3 separate regions of the Homo sapiens genome follow, and regions 2 and 3 are each linked to region 1. The links are contacts of gene promoters, found by promoter capture Hi-C in blood cells and fetal thymus (Javierre and others, 2016). All regions are on one chromosome and are shown on one strand. Each heading gives the region's core, a stretch centred on a gene start or on the middle of the fragment in contact. The rest is flanking DNA. Distances are from core to core; before and after follow the strand shown. Region 1 holds the start of MMP27 (matrix metallopeptidase 27). Region 2 overlaps LOC105369460 (a long non-coding RNA gene). Region 3 overlaps YAP1 (Yes1 associated transcriptional regulator).

Region 1 (2,883 bases), core at 316-2,815:
CTGTCAAGTATCTGCAGTCAGATGACAGTATTTGTTGGGAGCTTATATGATGGTGGCAGAGGCTAGAGATGAGAGCATGTCTGCTGGAGCCAGTAAGAGCTGTGTAACCTCAGCCACGGTAAATAAACTTTTGTTTCAGTTTCTCTGTATTTAAGATGGTGGTAGCAGCAGAGCCTACAGCACAGGTTTGTTGGGAAGATACCGTAAATGGAGCCTAAGATGTGCTGTGCACACAGGAAGTGCTCAGTCAATTGAATGAATATTATTCTGTTCCTTGGAAATTATCTTTATGTTCCTTTGGATTAGGCGGAAATAAGCTGGCAGAAGCATTACCTGTAGGTGAGGTTGTATTTTCTCCACCCAGGGAGGGTGTAGCCATACTGGCCCACATCAGGCACCCCACACCTGGGTGTCTTCATGATCTCAAGGGTGTTTGAGTCCAGTTTTCCAGTCACTGTCAATCCAAAAAATGCTTGCATTTCCCGAATTTTGTCATCTATGAGACTCCTATTCTTGCTTTGAACAAGATGATTCCCTTCTATTTCAAGAGAGTAGAACTGGTTGAGATATGCCTGACCAAAAAGATAAGAAAAAAAAAAAAGAGGCACAGACTACAGGAGAGCAAATCTCCATCTCAGGATAAAGCAAAATTGCCTAAAATTCCTTCTGGCAATAGGAAAGGGGAAAAAAAAGAAGTAATGAGAGAAAGTGAGGAGTGAAGGAGGAAAGAAGAAAGGAAGGACACAAAGAGGAAAATAACGAGTCACCCTGCTCTTTCAATTTCCAAGACTTGGTTGACTTATGAGTGACCAGAATTAGCCAAAGCACGCAGCTCTTAAACCTCCACAGAAGAGAATGAAGCTTCGTCTGTCTGTTGAATGATGACCTATCTTACATATTTTTGCTGTTACTTTCATTTTGGTGTTTCTTTGAAACAAGTTCTAGGATAAATAAGTGATTATCCATTTTGCACATGTATTTGCTTTAACCAAAAATAAAAAGTTAACTGAACTGATTTTTAGAGGGAATCTGTAAAGCAATGTATTTTTTTTCATACATATAGGGATTAGGGCTCCAAATTGTAGATTGGGTCCTCCTGGTTGTCTTGAAATGCTTTTATAGTGATCTCCATACCTTGCAGGGCTCTCTCCTTTCTCCTCGCACTAAACATCCCTTCATTTGTGACCATTGCTAAAAGTTATAGCAGATCCTTTCCCCCTCCCTGTGCCAGCCCTCCTCCCCAACACAATTTCCTGATATCGTCAGAGATAGACAAATGAAAAGCAGTTCCTTCTCACAAAAAAGTTCAGGACTCTTTTGCAGGAATGTGTTTTCTTTTTAGGTCCCAAGAGAATCAATAAAATAAGCTTTTTATCAATAGTCATCGATATCATTTATTAAGACAGTACCTGAGCCAGTTGCATATTTTCTTCATTTTCCGTCATCCGGACTAAGGGAAATGCAGAAGAAAATGTTATAAAGAACAAAAACAGAAGCAGAAGGCGCTTCATTCCTCTCTTTCTTCAGCTGAAGCCGGTTCTGTTAGCACAGAATTTAGAAAATAATAGTGAGACGTGGCATGAATTGGCTTGTATCATCATTTAATTAATAACAGAAAGGGACACTTGCCATAAAGTGTGTCATGATTTGCTTTTTTTTTTTTTTTTTTTTGACTGAGCTGATTTTGTAATCTTGGCCTGCAATTGTTTAGTAAACACAGTTAGTGCTTATTACTGAATTGAATATACTGGGAAGTGAGCCTCCAAGTTATTTTTTTTTCCTTGCAAAGTTTTCTTTTGAAGGCAATCTCAGAATATCTTGGTAGGATGTTATCATAAAAAGACAAATGAATCAGGAGTCAGATTACCCTTATTAACTAAGATAAACTTCAAATGTTTATTGAATTCCTACTGTTTGCCTGCCCCTGTGAATGCAATCTTGTTGGAGAATTCAGACACATACAGAAATTAATGTAGGACAAAAAGGAGGCAAGTGGGCAAATACACAGTGCAGATTGTAAAGACTAAGAAGGGCCAAAGGCAGATCATTGCTTATGAGTGTGGCCTTGAGGTTTTATGCAAGTTAAATACAGCCTGCACTGGGGCTTGCACTAGGGCTTGCTCTGGGTTTTGGAGAATGTGTAGAATTTGGATTTACAGAGGAAGGAAGAAGAAGTATGAGTGCAAAGAGGCCATGGGAAGGAGGTAACACAGCAGAAATAAGCTGCAGGAAATCTGGCCTGACTGGAACAAAATACATATGTAGACAGCTATGGAAGATGGGATGGAGGGTCTCATGGACAAGACAGCTGACTGGGAAGATGAAGAGTCATAGAGGTCATGGATGATGAAGGCCAAAATTAACATCAGAAGTGAGAATATAGTTAGTGAGAGCCTTTTGGATTAATTTCAATATATTCTTCTTTACTTGGGCTACTTTTAGATGAAGGAACAGTCTTAGTTACAGCAATGTCCTCCCTCACTTGTCCTCCCCTTTTCTTCTACCAATTATTAAAATTTTCTTCCCTTTCTTCCCAAATGTTAACTCCTCAATCGATACACCTTTCTAAATCTTCCTTGTCCATATCCTAAACAAAATTTATATGGCATAGCTGAGGAACTTATAGGATCTAAGTAGATACATACTTCCTTTGCATTTAAAGCTCATCCCAGTTATAAATCTTGTTTCAGAAATATTATTATTTACTGTTTTAATATATGTATATAGTTTAAATTGTTTAATTGGCCTCTGGAGCAATGGGATGAAGGGGAGAAGGCAGACATGATCAGGATTTGTGTTATAATGGTATTAAGTACAAGTATGCTAAGTACAAGTATGCTCATTGTATTGTTCTTTTGTGTTTTTTAAACTCTAAAATATTTC
Region 2 (2,873 bases), core at 324-2,823, 420 kb before region 1:
ATATTCCCCGTGAGTCGGAGACTCTGTGCTCTGAATTATGTTGCTCAATTCAAGCGATGATCCAAGGCCAATGACAGTATACCAAGCTATCATTTCTTGGCAGGTCGAATAGTCATGTGTATATTTTATGTTCCTTATAAAAGTTAGGCGATATAAATATTGGTGATATGAAAGTTGATATTTTACATAAATTGTCAATTGCTAGTCAAACACGTCAAGGTTTTTTCTTTATGTGGTGGGGCTTTAAAATCTCAGCAGGGAGTTCTTTGAGTTTGAAGTGTCTCCCCTAAGCTTTCCATTTCAGACACTGTTTTTTTCCAAAACAGGTCTCAGTGTGTTGGTGTTTCCAAAGTGCAGATGATTCCTGTTCTTATTTTGTGGCTGTTCTTGCAGAATGCTATCAGCCCCAGATCTAGGGTAGAGGACAGGCTTGATTGGAGCCTTTGCCTGTTACAATGCATGATTCCACCACAGGCCAGCTGTGACCATTCCGCCCAGTGACAGCGTGGTTGTCTTTCCTCATAGGTGAAGGAGGTGACTTCTTATGGGACATGATTTCTGAAGCAGAAGTTTACCTGAGGTTCCTGGAAGAAATGTTTTCCCCACCTGTTGGCTCCCTGAGTATTAACATGCCAGATGCAAAGCTTCATTCATTCTATTAAAATGCAAATGAGCCCAACAGTGTAGTAAAACAGTTTGCTGCTAGAAGTTATTTACAATATTCTAAGAGTAACGCTCTTATTCACCCTAAGCACAGGTTTTAATAAAAAGTGGAAGGGATCGCAAGGGTATTGAGATCTCAGCAAGAGAAGGAAAGGGAAAAGGTTGTTTAAAAACAACATTAATAGAAGACATACCGTATAGAGAGAAAAACGCAGACTGTGCATGTTCAAGATAACTTTCATTACAATTTTGCCTAAGCCAGGGTGAATGCAAATGTTTCAGTTTTAACAGACTGGATCATTCATTCAAAAAGCATTTATTGAGTGCCTTCTCAAAAAAGAATGATAATTAGATTTTTTAAGTTATAAAGAAAATATAAAACCAAAACTGGAGAAATATACGCCAACATTTTTCCAATGGTTCCGTTGTCAAAGTAGAATTAGAATGTAAGTGCAGAGTTAAATTCCATTGTCTATCAAGAAGTAATTGTAAAGGAGCTATGTCTAAAAATGTATCTTTTCAGTGATTTTTGTTCTGAACAATCTTCTGCCTCAAATACATTTTGGATCTATGATTTGCAACCACTTTTTTTTGGTGGGTCAAGATACCAGCACTGTAACTTTAAGAAGTTCATCATTAGCATGCATTTAAAAAAATGTACCAAGTTAAGAAAAAAATTGAATAAATGTACATCTGTCTAAAGCAGGGGTTAGCAGAGTACAGCCTGCAGGTCAAATCCAGTCTACTGCCTGTTTTGTTTTTGTTTTTGTTTTTGTTTTTGACTAGAATGTTAAGATACATTTTTAAATGGCTGCAAAAAAAAAAAATCAAAAGGATAACATTTCATGACATGTTAAAAATTGTCTTCAATTCAAATTTCAGGGGCTGGGTGTGGTGGCTCACACCTGTAATCCCAGTACTTTGGGAGGCCGAGGTGTGTGGATCACCTGAGGTCAGAAGTTCAAGACCAGCCTGGCCAACATGGCAAAATCCCGTCTCCACTAAAAATACAGAAAATTAGCAAGGCCGTGTGCAGTGGCTCACGCCTATAATCCCAGCACTTTGGGAGGCCAAGGAGGGTGGATCATGAGGTCAGGAGTTCGAGACTAGCCTGGCCAACATAGTGAAACTACATCTCTGATACAAACACAAAAATTAGCTGGGCATGATGGCTCACGCCTGTAGTCCCAGCTACTCAGGAGGCTGAGGCAGGAGAATTGCTTGAACCTGGGAGGTGGAAGTTGTGGTTAGCCGAGATCGCACCACTGCACTCCAGACTGGACAACAGAGCAAGACTCCATCTCAAAAACAAAACAAAACAAAAACAATAAAAACAAATCAACAAATCCTGAAACCCTTCTTCCTAGCATTCCCTATCTACATTTTCTGCATTATTTAGCTTTATAGTATTTATCATTAACACAGCCTACATTTTACATATTTTTAAAAAATTGTATATCATTCCTTATTAGAATATTAATTAAATCCCAGGGATTTTTGTCTTTGTTTACTGTTGTATGCTGGAACCTAGAAGAGCATATGACTCCTATATATTGTAGTCGGTACTTGTTTGTTGTGTGTGTTAGTGGCTGAGCCAGGGCTTGTTGCAGACCTGCTTCCATGGTCAGGGAAGCTGGCAAGGTAATGGAATGAATGTGAGACTTTAACATCATATGTGTTTGGGTTCAGATTCTAATCCCAGCCTTTAGTAACTGTTGCAATTTGGAGTAGATTTCACCCAGATATCGGTGATATAAACAAGGAAAATGTTTATTCTTATTATTCTTTTGTGATAAAGAGGTCCAGCATTGATAGAGCAACTCCACAGTCATCAGGGACCCAAGCTTGTTCCACACCCCTTAGTATATGGTTTCCAATGGCCAGGCATGGTGGCTCACGCCTGTAATCCCAGCAGTGGGAGGCTGAGGCTAGAGGATTGCTTGAGCCTGGGAGTTCAGGACCAGCCTGGACAACATAGCAAGACCCCATCTCTACAAAATTAAAAAGAAAATTAGGCCGGGCACATTGGCTCACACCTGTAATCCCAGCACTTTGGGAGGCTGAGGCAGGTGGATCACCTGAGGTCAGGAGTTCGAGACCAGCCTGGCCAACATGGTGAAAACCTGTCTCTACTGAAAATATGAAAAATTAGCTGGGCTTGGTGACGGGCACCTGTAATCCCAGCTACTTGGGAGGCTGAGGCAGAATAA
Region 3 (2,753 bases), core at 119-2,618, 490 kb before region 1:
AAAAGTCCTCCATGCCAAAAAAATGTTGAAATTGTTTCCTTTTTTCCCAAGGTCTTATACCCTGAATCTGATAAATAAGTCAAATTCTTCTTGATCTTTGTTTCATACTTGAATAGAAAAGTAAATCTTTACTGTTATTAAAATTATCAGGAATTCTTAGATTTTTTAAAATAGTAAAGTTTTAGAAAAGGTGAGGCTTATTAGTAGTAAAGCTTCTAAGATACGAAGATTAGAGGTAATTACTCAGATTTGCCCAGACCAGAGCAAAAAACTTGAAAGAGGTTTTTAAAAATCTTCTTTGCATATGCTGGAGATTAAAATATTGGTTTGTTATATATGCTTTAGTTGTCAGTGTTTAATATTTACCTGGCATAATTGTGGAAAGTTATCAGTAAATGTATGAAATTCAAGTATAGGGTTATATTTGAAATAGATCAAGAAATCTGGTGGTATTTGTATCAAGAAAGCATGTGTATATTTTTCTCATCCTATTATTTTCTAAATAACCTTAAGGTAGATGTCAGGAAATAGATCACAAAGAAGAGTCATGTCTTTTCTTCTTTTTTTTTTTGAGATGGAGTCTTGCTCTGTCACCCAGGCTGGAGTGCAGTGGCGCAATCTCAGCTCACTGCAACCTCCACCTCCCAGGTTCAAGCAATTCTCCTGCCTCAGCCTCCTGAGTGGCTGTGATTACAGGTGCCTGCCACTACGCCCAGCTAATTTTTTGTGTTTTTAGTAGAGACGGGGTTTCACCATGTTATCCAGGATGGTCTCCACCTCCTGACCTCATGATTCGCCTGCCTCGGCCTCCCAAAGCACTGGTATTACAGGCGTGAGCCACCGCGCCCAGCCAGAAGAGTCATATCTTAAGTGAAGATGGCTTTAAATAGTGTTTCTCAGAATAATCAAGAAAGCTAGAAAGGACTTTTCAGCCCCAAAGAACAGAGGGTATAAAGACATCACTCAGTATCTGAACACTAGACGCTGTTGTAAAGTTACTGGGTTTTTAACTTATACTTTGTAATAGATATTAATGCAGCTGAGTTAGCAAGCAATAGTGAGATCAGTGTCATTTTCTAATCGTATACCTCATATGCTGTGGGATGTGGAAAGCCACTAAACTTCAAAATGCTTATGAATTACTACAGAAGCTGTCTTTAAGTACTTCCTATAGGATTTAACATATCATGTGGCTGTTGTAGGGTGCTGTGCTCGTGTACACTAACGTCAGTATGGGTGAGGTTAATGAAAAATTCCAAGATCCATGGCCCAAGTGATATTGAAATGTAAAATTTTGAAAAAACTTTAAAGGCATTTATATATCTTCTTAGTTAAATATGGAAATTATCACCTTAATTTATTATACTATGTTGGCAGGATTTTGGAAAAATTCATCCTTACAGAGCTTAACTTTTTATTTTTATTTTTATTTTTATTTTTATTTTTATTTTGAGACGGAGTTTTGCCCTTGTCGCCCAGGTTGGAGTGCAATGGCATGATCTCTGCTCACCGCAACCTCTGCCTCCCGGGTTCAAATGATTCTGCCTCAGCCTCCCAAGTAGCTGGGATTACAGGCATTCGCCACCATGCCCGGCTAATTTTGTGTTTTTGGTAGAGACAGGGTTTCTCCATGTTGGTCAGCCTGGTCTTGAACTCCCAACCTCAGGTGATCTGCCCACCTCGTCCTCCCAAAGTTCTGGGATTACAGGCATGAGCCACCACACCCTGCCAAAGAGCTTAACATTTTAATTTCATTTTGGTTACTTATGATTTTTATGTTTCAAAAGCAATTTCCATTCTCAGAAGAAACTTTCTGAAACTGTAAACATCTTTGCTTTGTGAGATTGAGCAGTTAATGCTATTTTCTAGTCATATCTCTGTTACACATCAGTGCTCACTTGTAAATTGGAGAGACCTTTTGAGCAAGTGGGTTTAGGAATGCACTCTAGCTTCTGTTTTAAGGTCTTTTGAGAGAAGAACTTTGAGGAAAGATAGTCCCCCCTGAGGTGCGAACACTTCTACCTTCTCTTGTGCTTAAGAATATGGTTCTTGGACTGGGGGCGGTGGCTCACGCTTGTAATCCCAGCACTTTGGGAGGCCAAGGCGGGTGGATCACCTGAAGTCAGGAGTTTGAGACCAGCCTGGTCAACATGGTGAAACCCGTCTCTACTAAAAATACGGAAATTAGCTGGATGTGGTGGGGCGGGCGCCTTTAATCCCAGCTGCTCAGGAGGCTGAGGAGGGAGAATCGCCTGAACCTGGGAGGCAGAGGTTGCAGTGAGCCAAGATCGTGGCATTGCACTCCAGCCTGGCGAAAAGAGCAAAACTCCGTCTTGAAAAAAAGAAAAAGAATTTGGTTCTTAATATCTGGGGTTCCCTAGTACCTATGAGATCGAGTTTAAACTCTGCAACTGGCTCATGGTCTGTGGTCAGTAGCCTTTTCACTCACTGGTTCCAGTTAAGCCAGTAACTCTTCCATTATTAGCTAAGTGTACTCCACTGCCTTGTTGCTGTTATTCTGCTCACAAGCTTTTCCCCATAGTGAGAACCTTGCTTATCCCCTTTCTTACCAGTAAAGATTCTTCATTTCTGTTTTAAGGCTTAGGGTGAGATTCATTCCCAAGTGCCCTTATGAGAATTCTTGAGGCAGGGCACAGTGGCTCACGCCTGTAATCCCAGCACTTTGAGAGGCCGAGGCAGGCAAATGACCTGAGGTCAGAAGTCCGAGACCTGCCTGGCCAATATGGTGAAAG

What was found. Contacts are between HindIII fragments. The CHiCAGO score rates a contact against its expected background, and 5 or more counts as called.
Region 2: a fragment that was not itself captured here is called in contact with the fragment with the promoter of MMP27 in region 1 in 4 of 17 cell types (M0 macrophages, M1 macrophages, M2 macrophages and 1 more); the score reaches 16.5 in M0 macrophages.
Region 3: a fragment that was not itself captured here is called in contact with the fragment with the promoter of MMP27 in region 1 in 3 of 17 cell types (naive CD8 T cells, activated CD4 T cells and non-activated CD4 T cells); the score reaches 6.9 in naive CD8 T cells.

The regions. Positions count from the first base shown.
Region 1 is chr11:102,704,204-102,707,086 of GRCh38, forward strand. It overlaps MMP27 (matrix metallopeptidase 27), which reads right to left and starts at 1,566. Exons shown (of 10, transcript NM_022122.3): 1 at 1,410-1,566; 2 at 334-572. The coding sequence starts at 1,511. The HindIII fragment of the contact is 3,149 bases long and covers 1,366-2,883 here.
Region 2 is chr11:102,280,003-102,282,875 of GRCh38, forward strand. LOC105369460 (a long non-coding RNA gene) reads left to right here. Exons shown (of 5, transcript XR_007062863.1): 5 at 1-1,237. Among named protein-coding and RNA genes, the nearest start is that of BIRC3, 36 kb to the right of the region's middle. The HindIII fragment of the contact is 1,863 bases long and covers 643-2,505 here.
Region 3 is chr11:102,211,151-102,213,903 of GRCh38, forward strand. All of the region lies in intron 6 of YAP1 (Yes1 associated transcriptional regulator), which reads left to right. Among named protein-coding and RNA genes, the nearest start is that of YAP1-DT, 100 kb to the left of the region's middle. The HindIII fragment of the contact is 2,317 bases long and covers 211-2,527 here.